2 separate regions of the Homo sapiens genome follow, and region 1 is linked to region 2. The links are contacts of gene promoters, found by promoter capture Hi-C in blood cells and fetal thymus (Javierre and others, 2016). All regions are on one chromosome and are shown on one strand. The core of a region is centred on a gene start or on the middle of the fragment in contact, and the rest is flanking DNA. Distances in the headings are between cores, read along the strand shown. Region 1 holds the start of CREB3L2 (cAMP responsive element binding protein 3 like 2). Region 2 holds the start of MTPN (myotrophin).

Region 1 (4,671 bases), core at 1,484-3,983, 2.0 Mb before region 2:
AAGTTGAACGTGGCTTAGCTGGGTCCTCTGGCTTAGGGGCTCTCACAAGGCTGCAGTCAAAGTCTTGACTGGGTCTGTGGACTTATGAAGGCTCGCCTGGGGAAGGATCCACTTCTGTGTTCACTTACATGGTTATTAGCAAAATTCAGTTGCTCATGGGCTGCTGGTCTGAGGGCCTCAGATCCTCACTGGCTGTTGGCTGGACATATCCTTGCTACATTGGCCTTTTCACATTGCAGTTCATGGCATGGCAGCTGGCTTCTCTTAAAGCAGGCAAGCAAGAGAGGAAGAGGAAACAAGCAAGTCAGGAGCCATAATCTTTTTGACATCTTCTCGTTTTTGGCATATTCTGTTAGAAGAAAGTCCTCAGGTCTAGCCCAGACTCAAGAGGAGGGAATTACACAAGAGCGTGAGCACCAGGAAGTGGGATCACTAGATGCCATCTTGGAAACTGGCTACTACATGGGGTATAAGCAGGATTAGACTTTGTCAAAAGCAGAAATGCTTCACGGATAAATGTTTGTATTCCTACATTAAGGAAGAGGTACAGATGGTTCCTGACTTATGACTTATGATTTCCTGACTTTATGATGGTGTGAAAGAGATATGCATTCAGTAGAAGCTGTACTTTGAGTTTTGAATTTTGATCTTTTCCCGGGCTAGCAATACGCAATATGGTATTCTCTCCTGGTGCAAGGGAGCCATAGCTCCCAGTCAGCCACACAATCATGACAGTAAATAACTAGTACTGTGTTGCCAGATGATTTGGTCCAACTGTAGGCTAATATAAGTGTTCTGAGCACATCTTAGGGTAGGCTAGGCTAAGCTATAATGTTTGATAGGTTAGGTATAGTAGATGCATTTTTGACTTACGATATTTTCAATTTATGATGGGTTTATGTGGATGTAATCCCATTGTACATTGAGTGACAGATTAAAAAAATAAGAAAGGTCTTTAAAAATGGAAAGAGCAATCTATGGAAAGAATGTGATGAAGGGGATACCAGGCTGGAAAAGAAAAACCAAGAACCTAAGAGAAAAATGAGAAAACTATTATATAAGGAAGGTGTGTGCCCATAAACTAGAGCTTCTATTTAAGCATTAAAATAATCTCAAAAGCTGGGCGTGGTGGCTCATGCCTTAAATCTCAGCACTTTGAGAGACTCAGGAGAGAGGATTGCTTGAGCCCAGGAGTTTGAGGCCAGCCCAGGCAACAAAGTGAGATCTTGCCTCTACAAAAAATTTAAAAATTAGCCGGGTGTGGTGGTGCACATCTGTGGTCCAAGCTACACAGGAGGCTGAGGCAGGAGAACTGTTTGAGCCCAGGAGGTGGAGGCTGCAGTGAACTGAGATCGTGCCACTGCACTCTAGCCTGGGTAACTGAGTGAGACTGTCTCAAAAAAAAAAAAAAAAAAAAAAAAATCTCAAAAGACCCCAGAAGATAGGACCAGACAAATGCAATAGTTTATATGATAAACTGCTGCTTTAAAGACAACATAGAGTTCAAAGACATTTGTCTCCACCCGCCAAAAAATACTTGCCAAGGAAACAACACAATAGCTAATACCTGAATGTGCCATTGTAAGAAACTTCTAGAGCTAACTGGCAAAGACCTGCTTTTATATTTAAGATAGGTAAACTATATTTTTGGAATTAAAAAGGAGGAAGAAGAATCACAGTGTTCGGGGGAATTCCTTTAGAACAGGCCATCTCTTCCCTATTCTAGGAGGCAGGCCTGGTGCTCTGGCCCTGGCTCACCTTTCTGGCCTTTCCCACCCCTCCCTGCCAAGCACCTCTGCTGCAGCCACACTGGCCTCCCCAGCAATCACGTGAATACCAGCTTCCCCCGAAATCTCATTTCCTTTAGGAAGAACTTCCCTGATCAGCACGTAAAATAGCATCGATCTTGACGCATCCTGTTTTCCTGCTTTTATTTTTCTTTATAGCAATTTCCACTTTCTGAATTTAAATGTTTATTTCTTTGTTTATTGCCTGACTCCTCTGAGATAAAAGCTCTATGAATTCAAGGACTGGGCTCACTTCTGTAGGACCTGGAAAAGCATGCCATTGACTCTTATCAAGCAGATGAAAGAAAAACATACAATAAGTGAAGTCCATAAAAAATAGAAGAACCCAACAGAAAATGGGCGAAAAAGGTGAAGAACAATGACAATTTCCTAGAGCTGCACTAATATAAATGTATGTGCATGAGGAATATTTGTATTTTTGTATAATATGTAATCCATTAAAAAAATTCCGAGAGATTCAAATGAACTAAAGTACTCGAAAATGTTTAAGCCCCCCGCGCAACAACTCTCGCGCCCCCTGTCGGCGCGCTGGTAAATTTCTGAGGATTCTCAGCAAGAGGACTGAACTCACCCTCCCTCTTTTACAAAATGTATTCTTGTCGCTATTTCATTGGCTGTACCTTTCAGACGCCCCTTTCACATTAGTCAAGCCTCCAGTCCATCACTTCCGGACCCAAGCCCTCTATTGGTCAGCTGTAGGCGACAGCAGACAGCGGGCCGCGCTCAAGCAGGAGGAGTTCCTCGGTGACGTCACAGACACTCCCCGGCTACATTCCAAGGCGTGGGCGGAGACTTCCCGCGGCCTCTGCCTTTGGGGGCGGGACAAAGCCGAGAATGAGACTTCTGATTGGGTCTGCTAGGCAAGGCGGATATCCAATTGGTCAAGCCTTGGAGGGAGGTGGGGCCGCAGCTGGGTCCTGGAGCAGAGCCGAGGAGCCCTGGGGTCCCTCAAAGTTTGTGTCTGGAGCCGTAGCGGCAAGTGGGCTTGCGGCTAAGGGATTTTCCTGGGATGAGAGCGGGTCTTCTGCCTTCATTTTGGATGCACATCCCGCTTTAGCCCCGGCAGCCTTTGGTCCGGCTCGTGTCCCTGGGGATTCTCGGATCTCCGAGGACACCGGACGGGAGCGCTTGGCCATCCTCTCTCCGGCAGAGGAGCAGACGTTTGCTTTCCAAGTGCAAAACTACAGACACGCGCGCGCACACACGCAAGCACACGCGGAGAGAGAGGAACCTTGCCGGTCCGAGGCAGCTCTGCGCGTCCCCTCCTGCGCTTAGCATCCTCGGCCCAGCGCGGCCCGCACCGCCATGGAGGTGCTGGAGAGCGGGGAGCAGGGCGTGCTGCAGTGGGACCGCAAGCTGAGCGAGCTGTCAGAGCCCGGGGACGGCGAGGCCCTCATGTACCACACGGTGAGGACCCGGCGGGCGGGGCAGGAGGGCTTTCAAAGCGGGCAAGTGTTGTCACGCGAGGAGCAGCTGGAGTCCTGGGACCCGGGAAGGCAGGGTTTGGGGCAGGGCATGGTCAGAATCAAGAGGTCCTGGGCGAGGTGTACTTTAATGTCTGAGCAGATGAAGGCGGGCAGCTGGCCCCTTTACATTTCTCATGAGAGTAATGCCACTTTGTATTCCTTTAACAATTCATGCTTTTTTCCCTGAGGCTTTTTCCATCTGTAATATCATTTGCTGTTGTTAACAGTACTGTAATGCGGGAGAGGGAGTGTGTGTTTTGAGAATAACATGCCTCCGCCTAGTTTGCTATTGATTTTTTTTTGAGGTTTTCAAAAACTGGACAAGATTAAGTAGCATTTCCTTTTCATCTGTCTCGTATTCTCTCTCCCTCTCTCCCTCCCTTCCTCTTCTTTCATATTTATATTTTAAAAAGTACACGTGTGTGTGTGTGTGTGTGTGTGTGTGTGTGTGTGTGTGTGTGTTGAAAGGGCTCCTCTACGTTAGGGAGAAAGGCGGCTTTATTTGCTTTCTTAAACTGTACGACCAAGAAGTCTCCTTCCTCCCTCTTCGGAGGAAAAACCAGCAGAGGAGTATGGAAAATCTGAGACAGTTGCATATTTAAGAAAGGCTCTGGGGAAGGTGGGACAGCTCACCAGTTGCTTGTTCAGTCTTATACTAATGCCTCAGAGATCTCTTGGGGGATTAAGCTGTCCCAGAGCACGCACATTTCTTTTAAAGTTTTTAATGTCAAGTTTTTGGTATTAAGTTTGCAAAATGAAATTTTGTTTTCAATAGCCAGCACTGATCATAGGACTTTATGCAAGATCTCTTTGTTTGATTCTTATCCATGCAGACGTTTGTAATGGGGGTGGGGCTGGGGTGAGGGGGGACACTAATGAGAAAACCACTGGAGGCTTGGCTGCTTCCCCTTCACGCTTTTTTAATGGGGTCAGTACCAAGATATTTGAAACTTTCGCAAAATGGCCTGCAGGCTCCACCTCTTTGGCCTTTGACTCTGGCTGACGTTATTTTGAGACAAGGAATGAGGGCCTCCCTGCTGATTCCCACCGAAGTATTTGTGGTGGCTGAGAGTGGCTTGTTTAAAAAAAATGCAGAGTGCAGGGCTGAGAGGGAGTGGTAGTTCATGCTGGGGCAAAAGCCAGATGTTCAGTGTGATCTTCTGGGCTTTGCTTGCTGAGCTTGTCATGGGGACACTATGTGGGCAGCACGGAGGTTGGGGTACCAGATGTGCTTCCTGTCCTCAGTAAAGAACTTGGAGTATGTTGTTCCTCAAATATCTTTTGATGAATGGGTGCTCCAGGAGTTTCTACTGACAGGCTACATTTTATCCATATGCAGAGGGGCAGCCCTTCTCTTTTGTTCTTGAAGTATTCTTTCGCTGTGACAGTGTCTCATC
Region 2 (4,617 bases), core at 1,340-3,839:
AAAATACTTGTGACATGTGCTGTAAATGGGGGAAAAGCTGGGCCCTGTAAGTAATTGAAGGACCTATTTAAAGTGGGTGGTCTGGGAGGTCTCTCTGAAGGTTTGCATTGAAACCTCAAAAGTCAGATGGAGTGAACAAGACTTAGATGAAGAACATTCCAGAGAAGAAACAAGAAGCATAAAGGCCTTAGGGTGGAATGAGCTTGGTTTAGCTTGAAACTGACAGAAGACAAGATATTTCAAAATCAAAGAAACAATGGGGGTGGCAAGGGACTGTCATGAGATAGGAGATACTATCACCTACCATCAGCAGTCAGTGCACAGAAGGCCCTGAAGGCCATATCAAGTAGTTAGGATTTTAACCTACCTGCAATAGGAAGCCTTTGAAAGGCCTTAGGACAACAAGTGCATGTTTAAGTTTTAAAAGAGTAACTCCCAAAGTGGGGAATTATCTAGAAAAGGATGAGTGAAAATAGGACACCAACAGGGAGGCTATCATAGCACATAGCATCATAGCAGTGTAGACAGAGATGACAGTGACAGGGATGGGGGATATGTGAGGGTGCAGGGAGTAGTAATAGTGAAGATGGCAAGAAATGAACAAATTTAAGACATATTTTGAAATATTTACTGATGGATTGAATAAGAGAAAAGTTGAGAATGGGAAGAGTGATTATGACTCCCATGTTTCTGGTTTTAGTGATAGGGTGGTTGGCAGCGCCATTTACAGAGATATGTGGGGGACAACTAGGTTTAACATCTACAGGAGACCAGATCCTATTCTGGACATGTTAAGTTTGAGAAATCCAAATGAGTAAGAAGTTAAATATAAGAATAGATCACATAGGAAAAGTCTAGTTAAAGATTTTTTTTTTAGATGATCTTGCTCTGTCACCCAGGCTGGAATGCAGTGGTGCCATCATAGCTTACTGTGGCCTCAAACTCCAGGGCTCAAGTAATCCTCCTGCCTCAGCTTCCCAAGTAGCTGGGAAGGCAGAAGTCCGCCACTGTACCCAACTAATTTTTTTAATCTTTGTGTTTTGTAGAGATGGTGTCTCATTTTGTTGCCCTGGCTGGTCTCCAACTCCTGGCTTCAAGCGATCTTCCAGCCTTGTCCTCCCAAGGTGCTAGGATTACAGGCATGAGCCACTGCACCCGGCCAAAGATATAAATCAAGAGCTCTCAGCATGATGTAACTCAGAAATCACACAGGTGGGAGTGTGTTGGAGAAGAGATGGAGATTCTAGGACTTGCCTAACAAATTCCCCCTTGAGATTTGTTTCCAGAAATCGTATCACTATTGGGTATGTGGATTTGTATTTCTAATTATCAGGGAGTAAAATTAACAAATGACAATCTAGGTAGATGTTAATATTTGGAGGGATTTCTTCTGATTTGAAACCCATTTGCTATTCTACTCTAAATGATAGCAAAAAAAAAAAAAATACATTTCCAAACACTATTGACATCCCCATTTTACACAAGTGGAAAACTGAAGCAGAAGGGGGTTCAGTAACTTGCCCAAGAAGACACAAAATTAGCAAGAAGTGGGACCTGTATCGCAAACTAAACAATTTGGCTCCAGAGTCTGTTTGGAACCCCTACACTGTACGGCAATGGTGGTAAAGTAGCTTAGTTAATGTGTTTAGTGGGTTACAAATAATAGATTATATATATGAGTTTTATATATAGTAATAGTTATATATGTATATATATTATACGTATATTTCTAGCTCCAATAAGAGCTTTTATTGGATCTATGTTCATGTGCGCATGCCTGGATCATTAGGGTTGTGAGGAACAATTCAAGTGGTAGCTATGCACTATGGCATTACAACTAAACCCTAGGAAGAACAGAACTGACTTCACCAGAACAGTCCTGAAGTTTCAAACCATTAAAAACAAACAGTAAATTTAAAAAACGCAAATTGTACTAGACAGTTTGGTTTGCTCCACTTTACGGCATCAAACTGAATGCCTGGACGTCATTTGCTGGTCAGGAAGATGAGTTAATTTTTTTTTTCCTGCCACACACTTAAGTTTTTTGCTCCAGGGAACATTATACATAGTGTTAACACACTCAATTTACATTGTAGTTTTAGTGTTGAAGATTTCCTGGAGGGCAGGAATAGCGTTATTCCATCGTTTTTAGCCCAGTCAGACTGGATGACGGAGAGAGGGAGGGGTGAAAAGGAGGGAGGGAAGGGGAAAAGGCAAGGAAGAAGGAATTCAAATTAAACACTCTTCCTATACATTTTTAGAAGCTGAGCAAGATGCCCTCCAAGATTATGTTTTTTAAAAAGTAAAGTTTTTCCCATTAATGGTGGTGCAGAAGCGTCCTAATCCCATCGAAAGTACTCTCACTCTTCCTCCATTCGCTGTCTTGACCTCCCCCGGGCCTCCTTCATTCTGCCTCCCAGTCCCGCCCACTTGTCGCCGGCTCCTACCCTCCACTCTAGCCTTCCCGGCAGCCTGTACATTGCGCATGCGCACTAGTGGCGTTCGCGCCGCGGACCCAGAGAGAGGCGTTCCGCGGAGGAGAAGAGGAAGAGGAAGTTGGGGGAGGGTCCTAGCGGGGAGTGAACCGGAAGTGTAAAGGTTCCTGCCTCTCCTCGGCCAGGCGGAACCTCTCTGCTGGGCCCGGTGGCCGCAAAAGAACTTTCTTTCTCCCGCCCGAACGGTCGCCGCGGCCAACTGCCTCGCCCGCCTGGCAGCCTAACCCTCCTTCTCTTCTTCTCCTCTCCGGCTTCGCGCGGCCCTGCCTCCCTCTCGCCCGGCGGCATCCGCTTGCTGCTGCCACCGCCTCCTCATCTTCTGCCCGGCCAACCGGCCTGCCCCGCTGCAGTGATGTGCGACAAGGAGTTCATGTGGGCCCTGAAAAACGGAGACTTGGATGAGGTGAAAGACTATGTGGCCAAGGTAAGCGGGGATGAGAAGAGTAGGCGAGAACACGGAGGTGGGCTGGAGATGAGGCTGAGGAAGCTGATGGGAGCTGGACTGCGGGGATGGGGGTGGGCGGGAGGAGAGACTTCCTGGGTGGAGGCGGCACCAAGGAGAGAGGGGCGTCTAGGGAGGAGCTAAACTGAAAGAAGGGTCCAGGTAACTTGGTAGCGTTCTGTGTCAGGTAACTGCTGCGTTAATACAGTTAGGCGCTACCTGACTTCCTGGCCTCTTGGGGGAGGGGAGGAGTGGTGTCTGGCTCATCCAGAGTTTCTTCTGCGCACTGATCATTTGAGTTTGGCCCTCTTCTACACCAAAGTTACTTAAACCTTTCTTTGAATGAGGTAATTCTCCATCTTGGACTTACCCATTACTAAATGAAGTAACCTAAGTAATTAGGATCAGAGGAACATGTTTTTTAACTCTCGGCCTGGTGTGAAGTTGAAGAATTCATTGACCGTGAAAAGAGTACCGAAAATAGAAATAGTTAAAATTCTGAAACTGAGTATCACTTCACTGTGGTGTCTTAACTTTGGGTGTGGCCTTTTTCCTTTCCCCCACCACAACAAATACATATTTGCTTCAAGTGGTAAGGTTGTCAACTGGCATCTGGGAATGTTTAAGGTATCTGAATAGTTTTTAAACAAGCATGTTAACTTCAGTTATTCCATTCTTCTCCCTGATTTCACCTGAAATGCTTACATGTGTAGTAAATAGCAATGCAGTTTAGTGGCAGTGTATTTGGGGGGTAAAATCATGATGAAGAAAGACAAACTCAAACCTCAGCCCCAAATATAAAACTGAATCGACATTGTGGCAGAGTGGGAAACTTAAAATTCCAAGCTAGCCTGTCTTTCCATCCTGAAACTGTGCCTTTGTAATTATGAGAGAACTTAACATGTGATTTTAATTTAGTGATAATCTAAAATGAATCTTCCAAAACAAGTATAATTTTATGACAACCACGGATGGCATCTTGCTCACCTTCTAAAAGTGTGAGAACCCAGTCTAGATTTTAACTCTTCAAAGAATAGGACCTGACCTGGGTTTTTGCTTCAGAGGCTGTGTTAGGAAGCAAGTAAGCGAAGCAGTTTCTTAAAACTTACAGGATTGTGCAAGGCAAACTGCTGAAGGTTTTTACTTTATTTAATGCCATTACAATTTAGACTTTTTGGATGCTGCTTACCTGCTTAGTTTTTTGCAGTGGAGTTTTAGGACAGGCTGTCTTCTCGTCACTGCCTTCTCAGCTGGTAGCCAACTGAAACTTGACTTATTGGCTATTTCAATATAAAGCTAAAAGGTAGAAATTATTTGGTACACTTACCAGTGGTGGGACACTGCAATACTCTGGAAGTAAGTGGGCTTTTGTTTTCCTGTCATGGTGGAACCTAGGTTGTTTGATATACTTGAAATACAAAAAGTTGATTAAGTACTAACTGAACTTACAGCTACCAAAATAACACAATGTATTTAGTGTTTTCCTGACACATTATTTTATGTCATCCTTGTGAATACTGGGAAGTAAGTCCTATTATTGGTCCCATTTTACAGATTACTGAGATGCAGGATACTTAAGAAAAGTTATGGAGATGGTAAATTGTGAAGCAAGAACTAAATTGCTGACTCCAAAACTGAAACTCTTTAACTGCTCCACGCACTATCTCTCAGTCTAAGATC

What was found. Contacts are between HindIII fragments. The CHiCAGO score rates a contact against its expected background, and 5 or more counts as called.
Region 1: the fragment with the promoter of CREB3L2 here is called in contact with the fragment with the promoter of MTPN in region 2 in 1 of 17 cell types (neutrophils); the score reaches 5.0 in neutrophils.

What each region holds. Positions count from the first base shown.
Region 1 is chr7:138,000,148-138,004,818 of GRCh38, reverse strand. It overlaps CREB3L2 (cAMP responsive element binding protein 3 like 2), which reads left to right and starts at 2,733. Exons shown (of 12, transcript NM_194071.4): 1 at 2,733-3,215. The coding sequence starts at 3,114. It overlaps LOC124901752 (a long non-coding RNA gene), which reads right to left and starts at 2,512. Exons shown (of 3, transcript XR_007060551.1): 1 at 2,429-2,512; 2 at 1-263. RefSeq lists enhancers at 2,434-2,483, 2,714-2,783, 2,874-2,963, 2,512-3,109, 3,054-3,193 and 2 more. The HindIII fragment of the contact is 8,216 bases long and covers 1-4,671 here.
Region 2 is chr7:135,975,331-135,979,947 of GRCh38, reverse strand. MTPN (myotrophin) reads left to right here and starts at 2,589. Exons shown (of 4, transcript NM_145808.4): 1 at 2,589-2,919. The coding sequence starts at 2,848. The HindIII fragment of the contact is 14,647 bases long and covers 1-4,617 here.